3 separate regions of the Homo sapiens genome follow, and regions 1 and 3 are each linked to region 2. Evidence: promoter capture Hi-C in human tissues and cell types (Jung and others, 2019). All regions are on one chromosome and are shown on one strand. The core of a region is centred on a gene start or on the middle of the fragment in contact, and the rest is flanking DNA. Distances in the headings are between cores, read along the strand shown.

Region 1 (4,131 bases), core at 1,192-3,691, 210 kb after region 2:
TACATATATACACATACACACAAGCATATGTGCAAATGAGTGTGGGCCTTTTCAAAGTAGTCACTTTACGAGGTCATAATGTTTATTCCTGTTACATGGCTATTGTTCATATTGGTTTTAGAACTTTGATAACTTCAGCATATTCATGTCTAAGCAACAAAATATTTAGTTTTTGTATGTGGCTTTGGGTTTTGGTAATATCCATAGGCTATTCAAACCTTAGTCTACAAATAATTTACATGATGAACAAGCTGAGGGGTATAATTTTAAATCCAAGATAAGGTGCATACTAATAAAATGAAATAGGTATTCTGTTAATTGAAATAATTCTAAAACAATTACAAAAGGAGAATTCAGAAATGTTTGAGCAGTGTCAGTGTCTTTGAAATAAGCGCAGAACTTCTCAAGATCTAGAAAGGCAGTTTCATATGCAGGAAGGAACACTGGATTAAGTTGCAAATCTTAGGGTCAGTTCCTAGGCTTCCACTTATTAACTGTTTGGGAGCTACTTCAGTGGGACTCTGGGTTTTAATCTTTGAAGTGGGTTGATGCTCTCTTAGATCCATTAGCGTTAAAGTCCCTGATGTTGCGATTCTGCTTTGAAAGTAATTACAAATACATGTAAATGATGTCAGGACTGAGGATTGGCCACATTATAAAATTGCAAAGTTTTGCCACTATTTTCTTTAAATAGGTTTTTGTATGTTTGTTAAATTTTATCTTTTTGGCCAGGTTCAATGGCTTAGCCCTGTAATCCCAGCACTTTGGGAGGCCAAGCCAGGCAGATCACTTGAGGTCAGGAGCTCAAGACCAGCCTGGCCAACATGGTGAAACCCCATCTCTACTAAAAATACAAAAATTAGCTGGGCATGATGGTGTGCGCCTGTAATCCCAGCTACCTTGGGAGGCTGAGACAAGAGAATCACTTGAACCCAGGAGGCAGAGGTTGCAGTGAGCCGAGATCACGCCACTGCACTCCAGTCTGGGTGACAGAGCAAGACTCTGGCTCAAAAAACAGTTTATATCTTTTTGCTTTATATCAAGCCTATTCCTGGTTGGATCATTTTGTTTTTACAGGTGAGGATTCAAGGATCAAAATTAAGTGACTGGCTCAGAAACAGAGCAGTTTACAAATCAAGTTAGATTGGAAGCTTTCAGACTTAGACCTACAGTTCTGACTTCACAACCTTGAAATGGCCATTTTTCCCACTAGTGGGTAGAAAATGGATGAAAAAACTTTAACAAATGGATGAAAATAATGGCGCAGTTTTCAATTTCATAATAATGTCCATTCCCCACTTCCTACTACCCTCCATTTATACTTGTAACTGAAAATTTTGTGGGTTAGTAACAATTAGATGTTCCCATTTTACAAGACTAAAAGCAAAGAGTTTTTACATCTCTGTCTAGAAGAAACTGTCACACACACGTAAATGTGAATAATGCCCATATAGCTGAGAATATTACTAAGGGAAACCACATAAGGATAATGTTTTGTTATTAAAATTAAAATATTTTATCAGGGGTGCAACATCGTCCATTGAAAATGTCCATTCTAAATACAGCTCTTAATGTAATTACAGCAATAATTTAGTTTGTACATTCAAGGTTGTGAACTTTTTTATATTTGCTGGATGCAGTTCTGAAATTTAGTACTTGTCTGTCTTAAGGAGATCTGCCCTGCATGCAAATCTATAACTAGACAAATATTATTTCCTTTCCCAGCTTGCTCTTGGGAGGTTTCCATATCCTCAGGTAAGATTGTTCATTACTGCTGTTTGCCACTGTGACATTCATTCCTATGTATGAAGGTGCAGGGAGCAATTGTGAACATTTGAGCCACATACAAATAAATCTGTCCTGTTAAATTGAAAAGTGGTATCTTAAAGGGTTCATTTAGAAATCTCTATTGATTTTTGATTTTTTTAAACTCCTGATTTTTTCTTCTTGTTAAAGGTTGAGAGTGATCATTGTGCTTTTCCTTTGTGTGACATTCGGGATTGTTTTTTTTCCTGGTCCAATACCATGTACTCATTTTGAGGTTGGAGGAGAGAGCCAGCTTTTTCTTGATACACTTTTTAAGCTCTTAAATTCACTTAAAATTTTTTGAGTTAAAAGATTAAGACAAAGGGTGAAAGCATCTAATCTAGGTCATTATTTTTGCTAGGCAAATATATAGGCCCCCAATTTTATGAGTGTAATTTTGAACATATTATTTAAAAATATTTTGCTCCCTCCTGTCTACATTTGTAAGGAAACAAAACAGTCCATTATAGTAGCATTGCTGACTCTAATCTTTATTAAAATTTCTTTAAGATTTTTATTATAGAAGGGTACCAGCACTAAAATAGAAAGCTATTTTGTGGTTTGAAAATGATTCCCCAGTTTGTGGGGGAAATAAGTGAAATGTCTAGAGGGATGAAAAATGAATGGTTTGACTGTTTTCCTCTGGTTGATGTTCACTGTTTTTCTGGCATCTTGGTCTGTACAGGCCAAAGTGCCTAGAGGCATGTCTGATTTAAAGGTGGTGTTGGTCTCTGCTCTTTAAGCATCTATTAACTTGCTATTATTATGCAAATAAGTGTTGTATTACACATACTAATTTATGCATGGTTAGATTATGCAGATGCATCACAAACATGGTTATTGAATAATAGGATGGGGCTCATTCTCTCTACCATCTTTATAAGCAGTTTTAAGCAAATTCTCCTGGTACCAATGTGGACATTTAAAGACCCTTTACTCAATGAAATGTCTCTTTCGTATTCTTTTGCTTTCATAGTTAAAGCCATCAGATAAGTGGAAGAGAAATCGTCCAAGTTGTTAGGTTCAAGAGTGTTAGTCTCACTTTTCAAATTCATAGACTTTTTTGTTTAAATGTAATCTTTTCCTTATAGAGAAAATCTAAAATGCAGTTGCTTGGCATGAATGCTGGCATTTAGTGAGATTTTAGTGTATATAGCCTTGCTGCTTAGCTCTAGGTAACCCATCAAATTAAAATTACATTTTCAGGATTTATAGCTCATTAGAATATTTATCTTGGTAAGCTTCTTATTCTGTCAGTAATTTCTAAACAATTCAGCTTGGCCAATTTGTGAAATCCCCTAAAATTTTGAAAGTGAACTCACAAGCCCTATGCAGTATATTTCTCAAACAAATCTTAGTAGAAAACTTATAAGCCATCCAGTAAAAATTCCAAAGGTTGAGAATGTAGCAATATTCTTGAGATTCCTAATGTCTAGAGTAGTTAATCAGTGAGATTTGATGGGTGATGAGTCTAAGAAATGGATTTTGCCATGGCCAGGTGCAGTGGCTTACGCCTGTAATCCCAGCACTTTGGGAGGCCGAGGTGGGCGGATCACGAGGTCAGGAGATTGAGACCATCCTGGCTAACATGGTGAAACCCCGTCTCTACTAAAAATACAAAAAAAAAAAATTAGCCGGGCGTGGTGGCGGGCACCTGTAGTCCCTGCTGAGGCAGGAGAATGGCTTGAACCCGGGAGGTGGAGCTTGCAGTGAGCCGAGATCACGCCACTGCACTCCAGCCTGGGCAACAGAGCAAGATTCCGTCTCAAAAACAAAAAAAAGAAATGGATTACTGCCACATTTGACAAGTGAAGCACATGAAAGCTGTGGTCAAATTTGAGAAGAGGCTATTTACCTTTGCAGTATGGTTTTCCTGAATGTCTAAATATATCTTTACTTGATCAGTCAAGTGGAAGTTGGAAAATTCTAATACTATGCTGAACTCCCTAGTTAGCAACAACCTTTATACCAGAGTTGGGGCGGGAAACAACTGTATTCCTTGAATCATGATAGAATGTTGTCACCAAATTGTTACTTCTATCTGAAATAATAGAAGCAGCTTTGATGCCGTTAGGCCTATTTCCTAAGTTTTTCAACAGAAGTTGGGGTGCGTCGTTGCTAGAACCACTAATGACTTTTGGTGGAGTTGGCATTTATTTTACAGGCTTTGTACTATAAGCTGAAGATTGGGAAAGGATACTTTATAAATGCCTTTCCTACCCCTCCCTTATGCCCTCAAAAAAAGCACATGAAGAAAAATGTGTATTTTTATAGTGTCACTGAGGCTGAGTTATGGAATAACACCTTCTCTTTGGCCCACGTTAT
Region 2 (4,176 bases), core at 1,661-4,160:
ACAACAGGCAGTTTCAGCAGGGGGACTTGCAAAGAATCACATTTCTTTTTTTTTTTTTCTTTTTTTTTTTTGAGACGGAGTCTCGCTCTGTCGCCCAGGCTGGAGTGCAGTGGCGCGATCTCGGCTCACTGCAAGCTCCGCCTCCCGGGTTCACGCCATTCTCCTGCCTCAGCCTCCCGAGTAGCTGGGGCTACAGGCGCCCGCTACCACGCCCGGCTAATTTTTTGTATTTTTAGTAGAGACAGGGTTTCACCGTGTTAGCCAGGATGGTCTTGATCTCCTGACCTCGTGATCCGCCCGCCTCAGCCTCCCAAAGTGCTAGGATTACAGGCGTGAGTCACTGGACCCGGCCGAGAACTACATTTCTAAAGTAATGTCATATGTCCTGAGTGCTTTCTCCCCCTGGCTTTTCCACTGTTTTAGCTGGGGATAAGAACAACTCAATTCAAAGGATCCACTTTCACAACCACAACCCCCAGCTTCAACATTTTGCAAGCAACAGGATCAAGAGTCCTGTGGCAGTGGGGCCAGCAATGGCATGCTCGCCAGACTAGTTCCTGTTGGTCTTATCTATGTCTTTGCTGTTCGGACTCTCCTCGTTCCTTCCCATTTTCTGAGCCTGGTTCTCTAGACTTCTTGTTTACTATTTGGGCTACCTAATTTTCCTCCAATGAATCCCCTTTCTGCTCAAAACAAAAGAAAATCCAAGACAACAACACACTGAAGTTTCATTGTTTTGTTTTTTATCTATAAAGTTAATATAAAAAATTTGAACTTACAGTTGGACATGGTGGCTTCTGTAATCCCAACGACTCAAGAGGCTGAAGTGAGAGACTGGCTTGAGTTCTGGACCAGCTTAAGCAACATAGTGAGAACCCACGCCTAAAAAATAAGTAAAATAAAAAGTTAAAAAAAGTTTGAACTTATGCTTAGTAATAAAGCATAAGTTATTTTTGTTTTTTTTGTTTTTTTTTGAGACGGAGTCTCGCTCTGTCGCTCAGGCTGGAGTGCAGTGGCACGATCTCAGCTCACTGCAACCTCTGCCTCCTGGGTTTAAGTGATTCTCCTGCCTCAGCCTCCCGAGTAGCTGGGACTACAGGCATGTGCCACCACGCCCGGCTAATTTTTCTATTTTTAGCAGACACAGGGTTTCGCCATGTTGGCCAGGCTGGTCTCGGACTCCTGACCTCAGATGATCCACTGGCCTCGGCCTCCCAAAGTGCTGGGATTACAGGCGTGAGCCACCGTGCCCGGCCTAAAGCATAAGTTTTAACCAACTTTATATGTTGGGGACCTTCAACAGATTTCGTTTGAAAAAGGACTCCACTCTTTTTCAAAATTTAATTTGGTCAGGTGCAGAAGCTCACACCTGTAATCCCACCACTTTGGGAGGCCGAGGCGGGCGGATCACTTGAGCCCAAGTGTTCAAGACCAGCCTGGGCAACATGGCAAAATTCCACCTCTACAAAAAATACCAAAAAAAGCAGCCGAGTGTAGGTGGCACACACCTGCAGTCCCAGCTACTTGGGAGGCTGAGGGTGGGAGGATCTCTTGAGCCCAGGAGGCAGAAGTTGCAGTGAGCCGAGATCGAGCAGCTGCACTCCAGCCTAGACAACAGTGAGATCCTTTCTAAAAAAAAGAAAAGAAAAAGAAATTCTATAAAGTTCAAGTTCTATAAGGTAAAGTTCAACTTCAAATTCTGTAAGGTAAAGTTCAAGATTCGGCATATGTTGGTGGGTGCTCAATGTTCAATAAAAACTGGGGAATAGGCCTGGTGCAGTGGCTCACGCCTGTAATCCCAGCACTTTGGGAGGCCGAGGCAGGTGGATCACGAGGTCATGAGTTTGAGACCAGCCTGGCCAACATGGTGAAACCCCGTCTCTATTAAAAATACAAAAATTAGCCAGGCGTGGTGGTGCACGCCTGTAATCCCAGCCACTCGGGAGGCTGAGGCAGGAAAATCACTTGAACCTGGGAGGCAGAGGTTGCAGTGAGCTGAGATTGCACCACTGCACTCCAGCCTGGGCAACAGAGTGAGACTCCGTCTCAAAAAAACAAAACAAAACAAAACAAAAAACTGGGGAATATAAAATTTCGCCATACTATCCTACATCCCCCTTGAGTTTTTAGCAACGATAGTAATTGTTATATGATGCTTAACGCGTAATTACTGTACCTCATTTACATAAGGTGGTTTCAGACACATCATCTTGTTTATGTATGGCCTCTCCAAACAAAATGAGTTTAGGACAAAAGAGGAAATCCTTTTCTAAAAGCAGTTTTGTCCGTAAGTTACTGCCTCAAGAGGCCGCAAAGTTTGAGCAAAGCTTTTCCGAAAGTAATGGATTGGTAATGGGTGACTGAGGTCCACAAAGCTCGATAAGAGGCTCCTGGTCCGTCTACCAGGTTCTTAGAGGGAGGTGCCTTTGTGTGTTCGGACGCTGCACTGAGACACGTGAGGTTTTTAAATAAACTTTTGATTTTGAAATCTCTGGGACTAATTTTAAACAGTGAACCCGACAGCGAGGACCTACACACAAAAGTGCTCCCGGCCTTACCAAACAACGCAGACCCGGGGTCACGCCTCGTCCTGTTTCAACAACAACACCCAAGGGCTTCCCTGGAGCCCAGGGCGTGGGAGGGAGACTTGGGTTTGAGTTCTGCACCTTGCGGAGGTGGTTAGTTATTTAATTGTCTTCCACCTGAATTTTCCTCAGGCCCAAATTGATGAGACCTCCCCGAATCCCTCCCCTGCCCGAGTTACTAATGACGGCGTGAGGTCACACCTGGCCACTCAAAACCAGCTCCTTGACGCAGGTGACCCTCCGCCTCGCGCAGCTCACGCTTCCCATCCCCCGGACTCCACCCCCAGCGGGAGGCCACGGGGCCGCTGTGCGCACGCGCCGCCGCACACCGGGGGCTCTCGGGCACCCGCGCGGCGCCGGTTGGCCTTCCCGGCGCTCGCCCGGGGGCGCGCTTGCGCGCCAGCGGCTGCGGACACCAGCCTGCGTCCCCGGCGCGGCGGGCCATGGAGGCCCTGAGGAGGGCCCACGAGGTCGCGCTCCGCCTGCTGCTGTGTAGGCCGTGGGCCTCGCGCGCCGCCGCCCGCCCCAAGCCCAGCGCCTCGGAGGTGCTGACGCGGCATCTGCTGCAGCGGCGCCTGCCGCACTGGACCTCCTTCTGCGTGCCCTACAGCGCCGTCCGCAACGACCAGTTCGGCCTCTCGCACTTCAACTGGCCGGTGCAGGGCGCCAACTACCACGTCCTGCGCACCGGCTGCTTCCCCTTCATCAAGTACCACTGCTCCAAGGCTCCCTGGCAGGACCTGGCCCGGCAGAACCGCTTCTTCACGGCGCTCAAGGTCGTCAACCTCGGTGAGTGGCGACTGCCGCGCCCACGCGGTGAAGCCCGCCCGGCCGGGACGGCCCCTCAGCCACCGAGCACGTGACGAACGCTCGCAGGCCGGTAGAGTCCCGCGGGAGTCAGCTCTGCCTCCCGGCGCCGGCTTCGCCTGGGGTCCTTTGTACTCCTCGCCCAGGGGGTCCCCAGCTTGCTGAGCTCCTGGCACCCGAAGCCGTTCGCCTGCTGCGGGCGCGTCCTCGGGCCTAGGGAGGGGCGGGTCGCCCTCCTGTCCTGCCCATGTTAACCAGAGTAGACCCCTGGCCTGGGCAGTAAGCCAGGGGGCGTCAGGAAACGCCCCCTAGAAAGTGGCTCTGAAGTTGACATCCGTCCTACTGCATGGCAGGACTCATTCCCGTGAACATCACTTTGCAGCTGCGTTTATGTTGCAATAACTGGAACTACTCTTTTAAGTTTCTTTTGTTTTCTTTGTATGAATTCCCGGCAAGTTCGTTTTACTAAAAGCACCAAAGGTTTTCACCAGACATAACAGCTTCCTGAGGTGCTAGGCCTAAAAGATTTTTAAAGATCTTTAATATTTGTATATTTTCATGGAGACGCCCTGAGGATGTTTACTGTCACTAGGTGTTTATTTTCTTTTGGTTTAATGACAGAAGAGGGAGGTACGAACATGGACATGGGTGTATCTTTTATAGGTCAGGGGAAAACAGAAGGCCTCAAGATGTTTTGAACTTACTAATAGCTGGCATAAAATCAATCTAGATTTCAGTGATTCAAAATCTAGCCATGGAGCTGAATGAACCATGTTACCCAGCC
Region 3 (3,976 bases), core at 1,477-3,976, 160 kb after region 2:
GTATGATTCCATTTGTATAATATTCTTGAGATGACAAAATTATAGAAATGGAGAGAGCACATTAGTGGTTACCAGGGGCTGAGAGGATGGGAGACAGAGGGAATGTTTACAATGGAGCAAGATGAGGAATCCTCATGGTGATGGAAATGTTCTCCATCTTGACTATCAGTGTCAATACCCTGGTTGTGATACTATACTACAGTTTTATAAGATGTTACCATTAGGGGAAACTGGGTGGAGTGTACACAGGATGTCTCTGTATTATTTCTTACCATTGTAAATGTAAACTTTGAGATAACTGTGTAAATCTATAGTTATCTCAAAATTAAAAGCTTAATGTAAACAACAAAAAAAGAATATATCATCTTTCTGTAGTTACCTGTATTCAGAAGGTCAGCTTAATCAGAGAAGGTTGTCCTGGACTTAGTTTTTCTCTCTCCCATGCTTCTGTGGTAGGATTTGATCATAGGCAGAGTCATCCCTTTTAGGAAATCAGTAAGAGGGAAATTACCCTCTTCCATTCTGAAAATGAGTATCAATGGAAGCCTTAGAGGAGAAATAAGGAAAGACGTCGTGTGTCATTCAAGGAACAAATGCAAATGGAAGAGGATAGTTATTTCCCCAGTCCCCACCTCTAAAAGCCTTCTGACTTGCAGGGGATTGGGATTTGAAGCAGACTGTGTGATCGTTGTGTGTTTTGGCTCACCAGTCTCTATAGTATCCATTAGGGTAAGCTTCTATCCAACCACCCAGCAAGATGCCCCCAGTGTGTGGATGAGTGTTTGATTCACCAAGCCCCGCAGTTAGCTCTGATCATTGCTTTGTCTCTGACACAAACCTGAAGTTTAGGAGCTTATCAGAGGGAGAGAGAGAGCACCTGTATGATGAATGACAGGGTCATTTCTGTTGGTAGAGGAGTTTATGGCATTGATTGTATGCCAGTGGATATTTGTTGGATGAATACATTGAATCATAATTTTCTGAGGGCAGTGTTTTTCTCCTGGAACTTTTTATAATGTGGCTAAATTGGAAGTCATCTTTTGTTCCCCTTTCTCGTATTAAAGTAAGAGATTTATCCTTGGGACATTTTGCCAAGCAGAATGGACAGACAGCTTTAGCAGTTGGAAGAGCTCTCCATGTCTCTTCCTTTCTCTAAAGGCATGGTTGAAGGTGATCAGCACCATGGAAATCAAATCTACTCTTTTGCTGGTGGAAGATTAAGTTCCTTCTGGATTGGGTACAATCATAATGATAACAATATTAATCATTTTCCTAATATCATTTATTGAGTACCTTGTATGTGCTACAGTGTTAGCTCTCTTGTATGTATAATTTTATTTAATTGTTATAATAACCTTGTGAGGAGGTATCATTGTATCTCCATTCTTAGGTGAAGCAATCAAGGCTCAAGCAGCCTAAAAAACTTGCTTAGTTATAGGAAAAGTCATAGGAAAAAGTCATAGGAAAGTGGTTGGTGGCCTAATGGAAAAGCTCTAGTATGAGGGTCAGACCCAGGTTTAAGTTCTGGTTCTTCCTCTTAATTCATCTTAGCTATGTGACCTTGGGTCAGCTTCTTAACTTCTTTGAGGTCATAGCATTGTACCTGGCATATAACAGCTATTATTATGTCAAATAATTATTTCTCAAGAAAAGAAGCAAGAGGTTAAATGAGAGGGAATAGTTAGAACGTTCCTCACACTTTCCTGTTAACATCTCCTTTTCTTAGAAAATTAGCCTGTGAGTATAAAGAACTTAAAACATCTGGGCTATTTTCTTTGTGAACTTCCCAAGATCACCCAACTATTCACTGCCAAAGCTGGGATAATCCATCCTATTAGTTCCAATAAGATTTAGCTCATAAATATAATGCAGTTTGTTAAGGCTTAAGAGCTTTACTAGTCGAAGCCTCTAGTTTTGTGTCCTTGGGCAAGTAATTTCATTAATTTGAACCTCAATTTCCTCCTCTGTAAAATGGGGTTAATAATAGTACCTATCTCAAGGGTTACAATGAGAATTAAATGAGGTAATGCATATGATAATAATGCACTTAGCCCAGTTCCTGGTATATATTAAGTGCCAAGTAAGTGTTATCTACCATAATTTTTTGTTATTTCTTTAAAACAAATTACCAGGATTAGTCTTCGGGACACACCGCTCCAAGTCAAGTCTGCTGTCTTACATCTTATTTATGCATATAATGTGGTATTCCTTTGTTTTCTTTCCTTTTTCCCCAAAAATGTTTTATAGTCAAGAGGAGTCTTAACAGTCAGTGGTATCTTAGACTTGGGGAAGTAGGTTGTGCAGGAACACATTCCTCCAGACCTGGCTTTTCCTAAACACTGACCAGAATATGTACACATCACAGGTAGGAATCTAAGATTCACCACTTTAGAAGGAAATCTCTTTTACTTACTATGAAAGGATTAAGAGAGGGAGAATTGAGAAGCTCAGGCCTTTTTGCCCTTGTTATTAATCTTGTAAGTGTCCCAGGTACCCTGCCTTTATTGAAGAAGGAAAGGGCACGTTTGTTGCCTCCATTCTGAACCGAATCATGAGACTCCAGGCAATAACTGCCATTGAGGATGGCTAATTATGCTGTTTAATTTTATTTAAGGCCTTTGCAAGAATATTTGGATGACCTACCCTTTCTTATGTGATGGAGTCATTAGAATAACTTTTATATTGCAATGTGGTTTTCTCTTAAGTATGTTCCCGTTGTGCACAGATGAATTTGTAATGCAGAACGTCAGCATAGTCTATACTTAATTGTACCTGCTGTTCTCATTCATTAGAATGCAGTCCCCAATAAATAACTAGATAGATATATTGTTTTTTTTCTTTTCATAAGACAATTAAACATAATGAAAGAGCATTGCTGAAGATCCCAGGCACAGTGCTAGGAGAGGTTGCTAGGAGTGGAGACCGGCTAATGTGCCCTCTGGCTCCTGGTAAACTGAGAGTGGCTTCCTGGTATTCACACAGTGTAATTGCTTTATAGGGGGAAAAAGTTGAAGAGAAGTTTATTTCTGCCTCCATTGTCATCCCACAACAGCCACATGCCACATTTAAAAATGTTTCTGTAACAATTGTACCATGCCTGTTTCTAAGAGCATTCAGTGAGACATGTAAAAGTTCAGAGCAAATTAAATGTTTAAATATGAAACAAAGACCAAAAGGAAGTAGAAGTTGGAGATACCAACAGCACCTGATGTGAATAGGTCACAACAAAAAGGGAATCCTCAATTGGTATGGTTTTTCTTTTCTGGCAAAAGAAAGCATATAGCTGATACAAAAATCACAATTTTCTTTAGAACTGATCTTACCAGACACCGGGCACAGTGGCTCACGCCTGTAATCCCAACACTTTGGGAAGCCGAGGCGGTAGGATCATGAGGTCAGTAGTTTGAGACCAGCCTGGCCAATATGGAGAAACCCCATCTCTACTAAAAATACAAAAATTAGCGGGGCATGGTGGTGAGCACCTGTAGTCCCAGCTACTCAGGAGGCTGAGGCAGGAGAATTGCTTGCACCTGAGAGTCGGAGGTTGCAGTGAGGTGAGATCGTGCCACTGCACTCCAGCCTGGCAACCGAGTGACACTGCATCTCAAAAAAAAAAAAAAAAAAGAACTAATCTTACAAGGAAATTACCGTTTGGGTCCCTATACAAAGCACATTAAGTAACTCCAACTGTAGTTTTGTGAAGGAGCTTTTATTTGTTTTGAACAGCCCCCTCGGCACCCAGCCAGATCCTAGCCAAGGGTAACCTCCCACCCTGACCCCTGATTGTGCTGGGGGCAGGGGCTGGGCAGTGGGCGGAGGAGCCCTTTTGTGAAGATGTTGGGAAAGCACATGCTCTTGAGGCTCTGGCCTTTATTAGCAAGCTTCTGCTTGATGCTGTTTATGTGGATTGTTTAATGGCTAATTGATGCAGAATGTGTAAAGATACAGTTTCCTGCGTGAGGCAGTTATGGGTGGC

Evidence for each region. Contacts are between HindIII fragments. The study calls those that stand out against the background at their distance.
Region 1: a fragment that was not itself captured here is called in contact with the fragment with the promoter of C15orf61 in region 2 in 1 of the 25 tissues and cell types used here (hippocampus).
Region 3: a contact is called between a fragment that was not itself captured here and the fragment with the promoter of C15orf61 in region 2, in 2 of the 25 tissues and cell types used here (hippocampus and mesenchymal stem cells).

Annotation. Positions count from the first base shown.
Region 1 is chr15:67,726,191-67,730,321 of GRCh38, forward strand. It overlaps MAP2K5 (mitogen-activated protein kinase kinase 5), which reads left to right. Exons shown (of 22, transcript NM_145160.3): 17 at 1,726-1,755. Among named protein-coding and RNA genes, the nearest start is that of SKOR1, 97 kb to the right of the region's middle. The HindIII fragment of the contact is 4,576 bases long and covers 154-4,131 here.
Region 2 is chr15:67,518,221-67,522,396 of GRCh38, forward strand. It overlaps C15orf61 (chromosome 15 open reading frame 61), which reads left to right and starts at 2,911. Exons shown (of 2, transcript NM_001143936.2): 1 at 2,911-3,374. The coding sequence starts at 3,029. IQCH-AS1 (IQCH antisense RNA 1) reads right to left here and starts at 3,624. Exons shown (of 6, transcript NR_040052.1): 1 at 3,299-3,624; 2 at 780-882. RefSeq lists enhancers at 2,498-2,577, 3,218-3,337 and a silencer at 2,758-3,107. The HindIII fragment of the contact is 11,118 bases long and covers 1-4,176 here.
Region 3 is chr15:67,675,357-67,679,332 of GRCh38, forward strand. All of the region lies in intron 13 of MAP2K5 (mitogen-activated protein kinase kinase 5), which reads left to right. Among named protein-coding and RNA genes, the nearest start is that of MAP2K5, 130 kb to the left of the region's middle. The HindIII fragment of the contact is 6,748 bases long and covers 1-3,976 here.